Regions from separate parts of the Homo sapiens genome. Here region 2 is linked to region 1. Evidence: promoter capture Hi-C in human tissues and cell types (Jung and others, 2019). All regions are on one chromosome and are shown on one strand. Each heading gives the region's core, a stretch centred on a gene start or on the middle of the fragment in contact. The rest is flanking DNA. Distances are from core to core; before and after follow the strand shown. Region 1 holds the start of JAKMIP1 (janus kinase and microtubule interacting protein 1). Region 2 overlaps C4orf50 (chromosome 4 open reading frame 50).

Evidence for each region. The method cuts DNA at HindIII sites, captures the fragments that hold promoters and counts their contacts. A contact is called where the count stands out against the background at its distance.
Region 2: a fragment that was not itself captured here is called in contact with the fragment with the promoter of JAKMIP1 in region 1 in 2 of the 25 tissues and cell types used here (dorsolateral prefrontal cortex and mesendoderm cells).

What each region holds. Positions count from the first base shown.
Region 1 is chr4:6,198,972-6,206,309 of GRCh38, reverse strand. JAKMIP1 (janus kinase and microtubule interacting protein 1) reads left to right here and starts at 5,761. Exons shown (of 21, transcript NM_001099433.2): 1 at 5,761-6,057. JAKMIP1-DT (JAKMIP1 divergent transcript) reads right to left here and starts at 5,577. Exons shown (of 4, transcript NR_037863.1): 1 at 5,371-5,577. RefSeq lists enhancers at 374-443, 4,194-4,243, 7,196-7,285 and silencers at 5,346-6,105, 6,376-6,725. The HindIII fragment of the contact is 28,205 bases long and covers 1-7,338 here.
Region 2 is chr4:5,997,494-6,004,831 of GRCh38, reverse strand. All of the region lies in intron 3 of C4orf50 (chromosome 4 open reading frame 50), which reads left to right. Among named protein-coding and RNA genes, the nearest start is that of C4orf50, 17 kb to the left of the region's middle. The HindIII fragment of the contact is 5,514 bases long and covers 1,571-7,084 here.

The DNA of each region.
Region 1 (7,338 bases), core at 4,512-7,011:
GGCCTCCTTTAATCCTGCCACTCTCGCCCTGCCCCAAGAGCCCCCAGTGGCTCCCTTTCAAGTGGAAGGTCAAATCCTAACTCTGGGCCTTCATGCTGCTGTTCACTGGCCCTGGGACATTGTTTCTGTTCCTCTTCTTCTAGCTAGCTAATACTCAAGCTAACCACCTCAAGGAAGACTCTGCCCCTCAGACCAAGCCAATCTCCATGTTACATGGTCTCCTACCAACTTCTCTTCCTCCTTTAGAATTATCACAGCTGTAGATAAATAACCATATAATTCATAATAACTAAAGGTATGTCCACATCCTGGAAACTGTGATATGGGAACTCATTTGGAAAAAGAGTCTTTGCAGGTATGATTAAGTTAGGGAGCTTGAGAAGAGATCCTCCTGGGTTATCTGGGTGAGTCCTCCATCCAATGACATCCTTATAAAAGACACTCACACAAAGAGGAGGAAGCCGTGTAATACAGAGGCAGAGACTGGAGTGATGCGGCCGCAAGCCAAGGAAGTCCTGGAGCCACCGGGAGCTGGAAGAGGCCAAGAAGGATCCTCTCCTAGAGCCTCTAGGGGAAGCACAGCCCTGCCAACACCCTGACTGTGGACTCTGGCCAGGCATAACTGTGAGAAAATAAATGTCTGTTGTTTCAGGCCTCCCAGTCTGTGATACTGTATTAGGGCAGCCCAGGAAACAAACCCAGAGTCACATATATTCACTCACTGAATCCCCACCCAAACCTATGCAGTTATTATGATTAAAAGATTAATCTTACAGATAAGGAAACTAAAGGTTCACTTACTTGCCTAAGGTCACCATGGGTACCTGACACAGCTGGAATTTAATCCCAGCAGCCCAGCCCTGCAGTGGTGGTGGTGACCACACTCTACTCTGCAAGAGCAGCAGGAACTGAAGTTTCTTTCCACCATCTTTGCAAGTGACCAGCCCATCACAGGTGTTGGGTGCTCACAGCTTCCCAGAGAGGAGCCCCTCTGATGAGAATGTTTGTCTTTATAGGGAGCTGAAACCTGCCTCTCTACCACTTCCAGGGCTCAGGGCACTTCCTCCCTACCACTTGTGGGCTCAGGGCACACGGGGCGGGGAAAGCAGCTTTGGCTTCGGAAGACTCGTGGCTTCCATGCTGCTTGCTGTGAGTGAGCCCCTGGGCCCCAACCTCTCGTCCCTAATAGGGAGATCTTGGTGGTACCTGACCCCCTGCCCCATAGGTCGTCCTGAGGGTTATGTAGTGACCACGTGGTGGCAGCGGGGGTGAATTCCTTGTGAAGCTAAGTACAGACCCTTCCAAGGCCTGGGAGAGCCAGAGCTCTGGGTTCATGTGGCCTTGTGTTTGGAAATACTTTCCAAAAGCAAGATATTTTAGCTGTAACTGGCTAAGCTGGCTGCCAGGGTTTCCAAGACAGGGTTCCACAGACTGAAGAGCTTTAACAACAGAAACTTATTTTTCACAGTTCAGGAGGCTTCAAGTCTGAGACCAAGGTGTTGGTTTCCTCCAAGTCCCCTCTCCTTGGCTTGCAGATGGCCATCTTCTCACTGTGTCTCCACAGGGGCTTCCTTCTGTGTCTTAATCTCTTCTTATAAGGACACCAGGCATATTGCATTAGGTCCCACCCTAAAGACCTCATTTAAGCTCAGTGACCTCTTTAAAGGTCCTATCACCAAATACAGTCACATTCTGAGCTCCTGGGGGTTAGGGCTTCAGCACTCAAGTTCTGGAGGACACAATCCAACCCATAATACCCTCTGTCTCTTTCCCTATGCCGCCCTCATCATGCTTCCTCCCACTTCGGAGCTGCTGCGGAGGCCAAGGGCATTTTGGGGATGTAGCTGAAGGGGGATTGAGTTGGGGATGCCTTGGTTTGGGTTTAGTGGGGTGTGTTTATGTAGGTCTGAGCCAGTCTGTGTGGGTCGAGTTGTTGCTCCCTGAACAGGCTAATGGCTCCCAGGAGTGCCCTCCTTGCCATGGCACTGGCAATGTGTGCTATGGTGCCTGGCACCAGGAGTCTATGGGCAGAGGAAGAGACATAAGGGTTGAAAATGTCATTCTTCCAATAGGAGAGGTCTGGATTTGCAGACCCTCAGAGTCACAAGGCAACTGGGGGTGTCGCATAGCCCAGGACTGCTCAGCAGGAGTCACCTGGGGCATTTAGTAAAATGCTGATTCCTAGACCCTGCTACTCTGAGGCTTCAATTCAGTGGGATGTGGAGGAGCCTGGGCATCTGCATTTCTCCTATGCCTCTCCAGGTGATGGGCGCCAGCACTGAGGTTTAGGAGGTGTTAGTCGAGTCATGTTCTGGTTTGCAATTGTTCAGTTGCTTTTCATCATGAAAATTAATAAAATCCCAGTAAGAAGCCTGGAAGAAATAGAATTCTTCCAAGTGTTAGCATTCATTTATGAAAGAATGATAGACCTTTCTCCAAATTTGAAAACAATCTCAAAAAACTACCTGAGATTACCAATAATGAGTTATGAGGCTGACAAAGTTTTCCAACCAACATTAAAATTTGTTCCCATCATTATAGGAGTACTCTGAATTATCTATTTTCTCCACAGGAAAAATATTATAAAATCATTGGCTTCCAAAGAGGTAATCAAAAATGACGAAGAAGCAAAAAATGTAAAAAAAAGAAGATATTATAAAGGTGGATATCAGGTATCCAATTAATACAATTTTATATTAGTTTTATAATGTTTTCGCAACGTTTTTGATATTTGTCAACTTAAAATATTTTAAAATTTGTTGTGATTTGTTATTATTCTAAATAAGTTTTCATTTTTGTACCAAGTCTTGTACTGGGGTTTTTAAATTCTTCTTCCTAAGGGGGACTGTAGCGGCTCCAGGTTTTACAAAACCTGGATCTACTAACCAATAGTTGCCTGTTCAAAAGTCATTCTTCTTCTTTTCCTCACTAATGGAACCCTGACTTTGTTTCAGGCAGCAATGTACCTTCAATTAAAAAAAAACATCCTTGGCCGGGCGTGGTGGCTCACACCTGTAATTCCAGCATTTTGGGAGGCCAAGGTGGGTGGATCACCTGAGGTCTGCAGTTTGAGACCAGCTTGGCCAACATGGCAAAACTCCATCTCTACTAAAAATACAAAAATTAGCTGGGTGTGGTGGTGTGGGCCTGTAATCCCAGCTACTTGAGAGGCTGAGGCAGGAGAATCACTTGAACCCGGGAGGCGGAGGTTGCAATGAGCCAAGATCACGCCATTGCACTCCAAACTGGACAACAGAGCAAGACACCATCTTAAAAAATAATAACAATACTCCCAGCCTCCTCTGAAGCCAGGGCTGGCCATGAGACACCGTCCCAGCCAATGAGATAAAACAGAGCTCTCTGGGGAGAGTTTTCAGGAAAGCGGTGAAGTGGAGCTGACCTAGTGTGGGTATGCCTTTTGTTCTTCCCCTTCTTGACTGGAATAGTGATGAGATGTCTGGGAAGAGGCAGCCAACTTGCCACGTAGAAGACATTTTGAAAAAGAAAATTACATCCTGAGGGTGAAGGAGTGAGAGAGGATAAAGTGAGGAACAGCTTGCCTTTGCATTTCTTGTTAAGAGAGAATAAAAATCTGTTTAAGCCGCTGTCTAGTTGTGATCCCGATTACTCACAGCCAGACATAACCCTTAATCTACACACATGTATCGAAGTACCACCAGCTGGGCTTTTTAAACAACAGAAATGCACTGTCTCACTTCTGTAAGCTAGAAGTCTGAAATCAGGTGTCAGCTGGTCCACGCTCCCTATGAAGCCCTGGGGAAGGATCTGTCCCAGGCCGCTCTCATGGCTTCCGGGGGTTTGCTCCCATCTTTGGCATTTCCTTGGCTAGCTGATGCCTCGACCTGATCTCTACCTTCATGTTCACACGGCATGCTCCCGTTGCTTGTGTCTCTGTATCCAATTTCCCCCTTTTATAAGGATAGAAGGCAGACTGGATTAGGAATCCAACCTACTCCATTGTGACCTCATCTTAGCTAATTACATCTACAACGACCCTATTTCCAAGTAAGGTCATATTCTGAGGTCCTGGGAGTGAGCACTTCAACATACGAGTTTTTTTTTTTGAGGGGGTGGGTGGGGGGAACACAATTCATCCCAGGATACCTGGGCATTGTCCCTGATTGTCCCTCCCTCCCTCCTGTCCACGTCCAAGCCGTGAGCATGTCCTGCCAATTCTGCACCCAGATTGCTCTGATGCGCTGATACTTCACTGTATCAGCGTGGAGGAGGCCCCCACACTGCCTCCTTGTCCCCACTCTTGACTACTTCAGCCCATGCCCCAAGGGCAGCCAGGGCATCTGCTAAAGATAGTCTCACATCTGCTCACAGATATCCTAGTTCCTCCTGACCCCCTGAACCTTAGAGGTCTGCACTTCCTCCTCTTCTGAAGTTAGGCATGGCCATGTGACCTGCTCTGGCCAATGAAACGTGAGCAGAAGTGACGAGAGTCCCTTCGGGGAGGAAGCCTTCAAAGCCAGCATAATTGTCACCTTTCATTCACATTGCTGCACCATGTGGGTGCTCGGCTGGCAGACAGCCCCAGCAGCTTGGGCTCCCAACCACTCTGATGAACAGAGCCCCATTGACCGAGGCAGGATGTATGATGTGGGCAAGACACACCAGGGAGATTTGGGTTTGGTTGTTACTGTGGCTAACATAGCTTATCCTGACTGATGCACTTTAAAAAATATCAATCTGACAATGGTCCATGGGACCACCTTCCAGGTGAGACAGTCTCCAAACTCTCGCCAGCCTGCAAGACCTTGCAAGTGCTGCCCCTCTGTGCCCCCGCCCCCCATCTTCCACACACTCCCTCTCACCATTCTGTGGCCCAGATACTTTTATCAGATTCTCAAATATGTCCCGTTCACAGCAGTCAGGGTGTTCCCCCATGCTGCTCCCTTTGGTGGGTGCTCTTCCCTGCCTTCTCCTTGCTAGAAAGTAAGCTCTGGTGGGCAGCCGCTTCCTCTCTGCTGTTCACTGTGGTGTCCCCACATCTTAGTGACTACCTGGCACACAGCAAGTGCTCAATAAATATTTGTCTAATGACACTGAATGAATGTTTGCCCAGCTGAGTCCTGCCCCTCCCAAGTCTCAGCTCGACAGCACATCTTTCATTTGGCTATGACCTGCTGATGTGGCTTTGCTGGGGGCAGCCTGGGCTGGTGGGGGGAGGCTCCCTAGGCTGGCATCCGCCCAGCTCTGCCGCTTGCTGGCTCTGCCGCCGTTAGCGTGCGCTTTAACCTCTGACCTTCAGACCTCTCATGCGTACAGAGGGGGACATGGATCTCCGGGGTCGCTGCGTCTTCCTGACCACTGACGGCCAGGACGGCCCCAGCCCCGCTTTACCTGCAAGCCCCACTCCAGGCTCGAGCCCCCGAGGGCAGGGATAGCTTCCCGGGTCCCGAGGCTTGACCAGAGCCTGAAAGCTCCTGCCGGGGGTTGCTCCGACTCAGCGAGGCGCCAGGCTGCCCGGCGCGGCTGGGGGCGCTCAGCGCCGGGACCCCAGCCCTGCCCCGGCCGCCCGCTGGCCCAGTGCGCACGCTCCGGCAGCTCAGCTCCCCCTCCCACGGCGGCAGGAGAGCTCCCGGCATCTGCCCGGGGCGGGGGCGGGGGCGGGGCGGGGCGGGCGCCGCGCCCTCCTGCCTGACTGGCAGGAAGACAGACCAATCGGAGGGGCTCCCCGGGGGGAGGGGCGGTGCCGTGCCTGAGCCGGGCGCGGGCGACCGAGGGAGCTGCAGCCACCCGCGTGCGGCACGCGCCGGCCGCCTGCCCGGATCGCGGCCACCAGTGCCGCGGCCTCTCGACTCCCGCCCCGCCGAGCCGCGCGCGCGACTGCCATCCTCCTCAATTGCTTTTTACGATTTTTTTTGTGCATGCATTCATTTTCTGTTCCGTTTTGTCCTTTTTAAGGCGGTGGCGGCGGCGACAGCGGCGTAAGCTCGCAGCGGGGAGGGGGCGGCCGGAGGATGCGGCGCGGGGCTGCGCTCGCTACGTCCGCTGCTGCTGCCCGGCTCGGGCCTGAGCGCCGAGCAGGTGGGTACAGGTGCGCCGGGGGGCGGGAGGCGAGCGCTGGCCAGAGGGAACCCGTGGACCCGGCGACCGAGGGGCGGACCTGGCGGCAAGGGACGCGGCGACCGGTGCCGCCCCGCCCCATCGTCCATCTCCCCCTCCTCCGGCCATCGCGCCCCCTCTGGGTCCCCCTTCCACTCTCGCATCCCACCTCAGTGGTCCCCCACCCTTCCATACCCATCCCCCACTCCTCTTCAGACCCCCTTGCAAAATCTCCCAGCCGCTGCGTCGCTTCCCCCAACACCCCCTCCCGGTCCCGCCCCCAGCCCCCAGCTCTCCTTCACGCCACCCCTATTTCCACTCTTCTCCGGATTCCGCCCTCAAGCCAAGGAGCGGGAGGGGGACCCACCCGGTGCCTGCCGGAGTGGCGCGGGGGGTGTGGCCGGCCCGTCCCCTCCGTGTCTTCCGCAGGGTAGGTCACAGTCCCCCAGATCTCCGCCCAGGTGGCAAAGAAGATGGAGCTGGGGGCCGCGCCCCGGCGGCGCGGGGCCCGAAGGCGAGGCCGCCCAGCCCGCACCCCACCCCACGCACGGCACACGCCGCCGCGGCCCCTGCCACGCACACCCTCGCGCTGCTCCGCCCACGTGGGCGCCGGGGAGGAGGCTCGAGAGATGGGAAGAAAGGCTGGCACCCACCCTCCTGCCGGGCCGGCGCGCCCTGGGCGCACTGGCCTCCGGAGATGGCGCGCAAGGATTGACTCTCGTGGTGCCAGACACCTTGCCGGGCGCCCTGCGTCGGGGCCAGCGGCCTCGCTGGCCTGCGTCAGTGCGCTGCGGCCTCGCCTCCCAGCCCCTCGGTCCTTCGCTCCATCCCCCCTGCTGTGGGCTCCTGAGCATCCGGCCTGGGCAGCCCAGATAGAGGCCGCTTACGAGGCTGGCGCTTCTTTTCGCCTTAGAAGCATCCCGCTCCCACACACCCCAGCTCGCCGGTCTCCTGAAGGCTGGGCCAGCCTCGGCTCTCCGCCAGCCTCTGCCCGGCTCTCTGAGCTCCAGCGATACTGTATCTAACCGCCAGCCCTCCTCCGCCGCCCGCCCCATCTGCGCACACTCGCAGGCACACTGTCCTTGGCCTTTGCCAGTGCTGTGCTCTCTCCGCGAACGCCCTAACTTCAGCTGGCCAGCTCCTTGTAGTCAGGGAGATCCCCTTGCCCCTCCTGAGCTTTCCTGGAACGTGGCGCTGTCCCAGGATGCTGTTACCATCTGATGGCCTCTGCCTTCCAGAGCAGAGGAGGAGGTGGGGAGGAGG
Region 2 (7,338 bases), core at 3,078-5,577, 200 kb after region 1:
ATCACTATCACCATCATCACCAACATCACCATCACCATCACCACCATCACCATCGCCGTCATCACTGTCATCACCATCACCATCATCACCATCATCACTATCATCACCATCACATCATCACCACCATCACCATTATCACCATCACCACCACCATCAACATCACCATCACATCATCACCATAATCACCATCACCATCACAGTCACCATCACCATCACCACCACATCATCACCATCACCATCATCACCAACATCACCATCACCATGACCACCATCACCATCATCACCATTACCACCCTCATCACTATCACCATCACCATTGCCACCCTCCTCCTCATCTCTTCCTGGGCTTGTGCTCATCTCATCACCATCACCATCATCACCATTACCATCACATCATCACCACCATCACCATCATCACCAACATCTCCATCACCATCACCACCATCACCATCATCACCATCACCATCATCACCATCACCGTCATCATCACCATCACCATCATCACCATTACGATCACATCATCACCACCATCACCATCATCACCAACATCACCATCACCATCACCACCATCACCATCACCATCATCACCATCATCATCACCATCACATCATCACCATCACCATCATCACCATCACCATCATCACCATCACCATCATCACCATCATCACTATCATCACCATCACCATCATCACCATCACCATCATCACTATCACCATCATCACCATCACCATCATCACCATCATCACTATCACATCATCACCATCACCATCATCACCATCATCACCATCACCATCATCACTATCACATTATCACCATCACATCATCACCATCACCATCATCACCATCATCACTATCATCGCCATCACATCATCACCATCACCATCATCACCATCACCATCATCACCATCACCACCATCATCAACATCACCATCACATCATCACCATAATCACCATCACCATCATCACCATCACCATCATCACCATCATCACTATCACATCATCACCATCACCATCATCACCATCATCACCATCACCATCATCACCATCACCATCATCACCATCATCACTATCACATCATCACCATCACCACTATCATCACCATCACCATCATCACCATCACATCATCACCATCACTATCATCACCATCATCACTATCATCACCATCACCATCATCACCATCATCACTATCACATCATCACCGTCATCACCACCATCACCATCATCACCATCACCACCATCAACATCACCATCACATCATCACCATAATCACCATCACCATCACAGTCACCATCACCATCACCACCACATCATCATCACCATCACCATCATCACCAACATCACCATCACCATGACCACCATCACCATCATCACCATTACCACCCTCATCACTATCACCATCACCATTGCCACCCTCCTCCTCATCTCTTCCTGGGCTTGTGCTCATCTAGTAGGATGTTGGGTAAATCACCCTCACTACCTACACTGTAATTTTCTCTCTCTTGACTTTTTATTTATTTTTCCTGAGGGCTTATCCTGGACTGGAACAGTTTAGATGTGAGTGTAATTTGTCACCATTGAGCTGCCTGAATGGCTGGTGGGAGCTCAGGCCAACATGTCCCTAGGGTGGATGGGGCCTGCGGTTACCAGCTCCTGTGTCCCAGCAGCCTGTGGATGGGCTGGGGAGACTCAGAGAACTGCAGTGGCCTTGTGCAAAGGGCCATCTGGGGACGGCTGTCTGGGCCAAGGAGCTGAGAGCCTTTACCTAGGTCTGCTGCAGGGCAGAGCAGGTGGGTGAAGCCCCCTGTCTGGCAGAAGACCTGGGATGTGAGAGGAGGTGAGGGGAAGGGGCTGGCTTTCATCTTGGGAGCTGCCCATCTGTTACTCACTTAATCCTCAAGCGACATGGCCAGGTAGGTGTCCTCCTGTCTGCTTCATAGAGGAGGCAGAAGGCTCAGAGATGCAGTGTCCTGTCCAGGGTCACACAACCAAGGAGTGAGGCCCCGATGTAATTCCCATTCCCTGCCTTTCCTTTCATATCCACCCAGCCTCTTGGGCTGGGAGTTTCCCAGAGGCAGCGGTGGGTGCTCATGCAGCTGAGAGCCGCCCTCCAAGGACATGAGGATGGCACCAGCAGCGACCCTGAGTCAGGCTGCCAGGGATCTGAGCCCACCTGGTGGGGGGAAGCTCTGGGGCAGGAGAGCATTGTCTGAGTGGGCAGGAGGGGCCCCAGCCAGCCACAGGCCTAGGGACAGAGTGACAGCAGCAGGCAAGGTGTTCCCAGCTGGTTTGGAGCTAGCTGCTGCAGGTAAGGGCCAGATCACCTGGGGTATTCCCGGGGCTGCAGGTTGGGCCTTGAGGAAACAGGCAAGGCACAGCATGTTATTTTCCTGGGGCTGCTGTAACAAAGTACCTCAAACCTGCTGACTTAAAACGGCAGACATTTATTCTCTCCTAGGTCTGGGAGCCAGAAGTCGGAAATCAAGGTGGCAGTGGGGCCATGCTTCCTCCTGAGGCTCTAGGGGACAGTCTGCTCCTTGCCACACCCAGCTTCTGGTGGCTCCTGGCAATCTTTGACTTGCAGACGCATCACTCTGATTTCTGCCTCCATTTTCTCTTGGCCTCTTTCCTCTGTGTGTCTGTTTCTGTGTCTCTTCTCTTCTTATCTGGACACCAGATCTTTATTGGATTAGGACCCAGCCTAATCCAGTATGGCCTCACCTTAATTTGATCACATCTGCAAAAACACTATTTTCAACTAAGGCCACACTCTCAGGTACTATTTCTTTTGGGAAGGCACAATTCAACCCACTCCACAAAGTTATGTGGCAGATGACGGCTTATGGTCTCTTCTCCTCCTCCAGGTATTCCCTGACCCCAGGAGCCTCTTTTGTCCTCCCAGGGCCCTCACATGCATGGCTGTCAGTGCTGGGCTGAGCCTCCCAAGGGCAGGGCTGGGGCTGGGTGTGCTCTGCCTTCCCGGTGTTTGCTGAGTGCCGCAGGCACACTGACATGCTATACATTTATTTATTCATTCATTTACTTCAGCCAAAACATGCATCTTGCAAGACAGGCACTGTCCTCTTTATTTTCTGCTGCATTCCCAGCACTAGCACAGTCCTTGGCACAGAAGAGGTGCTGGGTGAATATTTATTAAGTAAAAGGAGGAAGGAGGGAAGATAGCACTGACTCTCTGTTATCAGAGCCTGTGTGGGTTGAGGCCCCTTTTCAGCCCTGTGAGGCGGCAAGCAGATGATCTGGCTTCTTGGCTCGTTTAGGACACTAGTTTCTTGGGACATGCCATCTCCCCTGTGGATTTCTACTGGATGAGAAATAGCGGTAATTGTCTCCCTGGTGGTGTCAGAGGGAAGAACCCAAGAGACCGTGATTGCAGGAACCCGCTGAACAAACGCTGGATAACATTCTCAGCATAAAATATCATGGAACACGAACTCCTGACCTAAAGTGACCAGCCTGTCCAACATGGTGAAACCCTGTCTCTACTAAAAATACAAAAATTATCTGGGCATGGTGGCATGCGCCTGTAATCCCAGCTACTCGGGAGGCTGAGGCAGGAGAATCGCTTGAACTCTTGGGGGCAGAGGTTGCAGTGAGCTGAGATCGCGCCATTGCACTCCAGCCTGGCAGAACGAGACTCTGTCTCAAAAAATAAAAGAAAAAAATGTCATTGGGTAATCACTGATTCTGCCTTCCAGCAGTCTAAAACCATGGCCCTTGAAAAACCAGGTTAGGAGAATTTCGACTAGCAAGAGGCTTGCTTTGGCTGTGTGTGTGTATCCATTTTATCATGGCTTTTGTGTTTCTGGTATCACTTGCTCTAACTTCCGGTGGAGGTGGGCTCTCCTGCCACTTACCGATGGGTTGCCCTTGGAGGGGACTCAGCACCGCTTCCTAATAACATCCCTTTGGGGATATGGGTTTTAACGGATGAGTTTTGGGGGGACATGAAAATTCAGACGGTAATATGGTGGGACCAGGATTTGCCCTTTGGTGAGCTGATCCCATAGCTGTGTCGCACGCCCTGTTTCTTCAGTAAATACTGGTCAACAGGTCAACAGTCAGGATTTGATGGTACCCACTTGGTGCGTGTGCTTGGCTCCAGTCTGAGCTCAGTACAGGGGCTGGGGAGTGAGACAAGACCCTGCCCCACAGGATGACAAAACAGATTGGGTGAAGGAGGTAGGGGCAGAGGAAAGGCAAGGAAATGAGCCCTGTGGAGTCCGTGGGTCACTGGGGGAGGACCCTGGTGTTGCAGTGGGGGCTGGACCCAGGCTGCAGCATGTGACAAGGCTGCCAGTCTCTGTCCATCTCTCAGAAGGAAGCTGATGGCCCACAAACAGCATCTTGAGGTCAAAAAGGGCTGCCTGGAAAGGAAGAATTCCTCCTGAGAGGGCCACTGGGAAATGTGAAGAGCTAGCCAGCCACCAGCTCTCAGGTTGAATGCAGCCTGGAATTTATAAATTAAAGTGTTAGAACCCATCGATAAGGAACTGCAAAGCCAGATGCGGCTCTTCATGTCTTGGTGGAAATTGCATGAGCCTCAGTGGCCATGGCTGTGGCTTCCAGGCCTCTGCACATCTGTGAAGTCGCAGAGTCCAGAGAGCATCGCATGCTGTGTGACTGCCCAAGGCTGCCAGTGCATCTTCAAAGGACTGGGAGTGACCCAGGAGGACCGAGAGCCACACGCAGGTCTTCAGCACCTTGCTCTGGACAACAGTGGTGACTGTCAAAGGATCTCCCTCCATAAGCACCCCACCATGGCTGCCCACGGCCTCAGGATCAAGTTCAACCTCCTATCCACGGCATTCAAGGCCCCCGGTGTTCTGCTCCTTCAAGCTCAGTCCCCCATATGCCACCTTAGTCACACTGAGCTGCAGGTCCCTGAGTGTGCCAGGCTCTTCTGCCTTGTAAGCCTTGCCTGTGTCTGGAAGCTTCTAGTGCCCACCCCCACTCAGGCTGTTGGAAAGCCTTGCTACTTTCTCTTTATTTGTTGGGAATGTTGCTTTCTCTGGAAGACTTCCCTGATCTCACGTCAGCTCAGTGCCCCCGAGGTGACATGAGCCACCTCTGGTGGCCCTGATGTTCACTGTGCCCAGATGCCCACTCCCTCAGCTGTGTGCCCCTCATCATCAAAAACTGGTTCACTTTAGCTCTATTCCCAGTCCCTGGCCACCAGCTGTGAAATGCTTGATGAGTGAGTGCCTTGAGGCATCGGTGAAGTTATTTGCTCCACTGCCCACGGGAAAAGGAAGCTTCTGGCTGAAGGGACTGCTTCACAGTGGCAATGCTGGGAAGTGAGGCATAGAAATGGGGAAATGGTGGGGAGGGTCTAGTCCCAGAGATGTGTACCACAGATAGAAAATCATCACGAAAGCCGACTTTCATCAACTTTTGGAGTGCTTATTGCCTGCCCAGCGTGGTAATGTGTTGCGTTCCCCACAACAAGCTTATGAGGTGGTAGAGTTATGGATTCTCATTTTGCAGAGGAGAACACTGAGGAAGGGAGGTAAAGTCACTTGCCCAAGGAAGTGGAAGCAGCAGTATCTGAAAGGAGGCACAGGCTTGGCCCCACCTGCAGTGACCCCTTGGCTATGTCTGATGTGCTCTGGGAGCCATGGTGTGAACTATGGCAAAGGCAGTCATTATAAAAGTGTGTTTCCTTTGCTTCATATTCACAAAGCACTTTCCTAAACAGGAACTCATGAACTCTGCAAGGTAGCCGGGGCAGTGCCCTATCCACAAACCTGTAGTCTGGAGGATTCCCGTAACTTGCCTGGGGTCATATGCTTCCTCCCGAGGTCACATGTTTTAGAGCAAGTTACTTGGAACCTTGATCCCCAGAGGAACGGACCACTGCAAGGACAAACCCTGATGTGGGGAGGAGTTTGGGGACAGGGTTTCTGCTCAGGGTAAAAGGAAGTAAGAACCATTCATATTTGGCAAGACAAACGTGGTTTATCTGCAGATGGGTCTGAATGCTTTCCCATGAGTGTGCACTGGGCACCTGCCATGTCCCAGGTGCAGTGAGCCAGGCATGAACCTTGCCCTCCAAAAGCTTATAGAGGAGACAGACACAGGTGCAAACCATGACACTACAGTGATGCTACGGCAGAGGGCAGCACAGGGCTGTGCCTGGCCTGGAGGGTCCCAGAGATGCTCGTGCAGAGAGATGAAAAGCCAGGCTCTTAAAAAGTCCTTGTCCACTGTCATCCCAGAGCTGAGATCACGATCCCACGTCAGGGGCTTCAGGAGTGACTGGATGATCCCGCCAGCCTCTATGCCCTGGCAGTGTGCGTAGAGTGACCCCTGGTGGCAGCTACGTGAATCTCTTTGTTGCTGGGTGAATTGCAGGCAGCCTTGCTCACTGCTTGCTTTTGTGCAGAGCAGGGTATTACACATTTGTTTCTCTCTCCAGCAGCAAGCAAGAGCTTTTAAAAAAAAAGCAGTGTCAATAATGTCGAAAAATAAAATAGGCAAAAGGGATGAACATGCAAATAATGTAAAAGGAAGTACAAAATGGCCAGTGGTCTTAATAAAAAAATATGGACAGCTCCATTAGTTAAAAAATAACGCCAGTGAGAAAAATCTCAGGATCCCGTTTTCTTCTGTACATCTGTCAAAGGTTAAAAGGGCCTGCAGCCGTGTGGTGTTTGAGCTATCAGGAGTATAAATGAACATATCCCTTTGGAAGGGCTGTCAAGCAGTAAGTATTAAATGCCTTTAAAAAAGGTTTATGCCTGAGTCTCAGCCATTTGACTTCCACAAATATATCCAAAAAGTGATTGGAGGTGCAGAAGAGTCATGTACAGTCATGTTTATCTCAGCTCTGCTTATAGTTGGTAAAAATTCGTAACAACCCAACTGTCCAATAAGAGGGAATTGATTTGATCTGGAACTATCTCCCTTTTTTCCTCTCCCTTATAGCAGAGAATATTAGTTAGCTATAAAAACCACACTGCAGAAGATCCTGTAGAGAAATGATCCTTCTATATCATTAAATGCAAAATTCACAAAGTAAAAATTTACATTTTGTATAAATAGAACTTTCGCAATGTCTATGCATAGGAAAATGTCTAGGCATAGAAAAAAGCCCAGAAGGGCCTCTAACACATTCATGTTTATGCCCGGATATCCTGATATTTCTCATTTTCTTCTTTTTGCTTATAATTGCACATGAAAGCTGAGTCCAGATTAAGTTACAGGCAAATGTTTTCTTGAGGGTTGAAATGTAGGATGGACTGATAGAGCAGGCAGGGAGGCAGAAAGTTCCAGATCAGGTTTAGAAACCTGAGCTCTGCTCCTGTGCTCCTGTCGACTTAC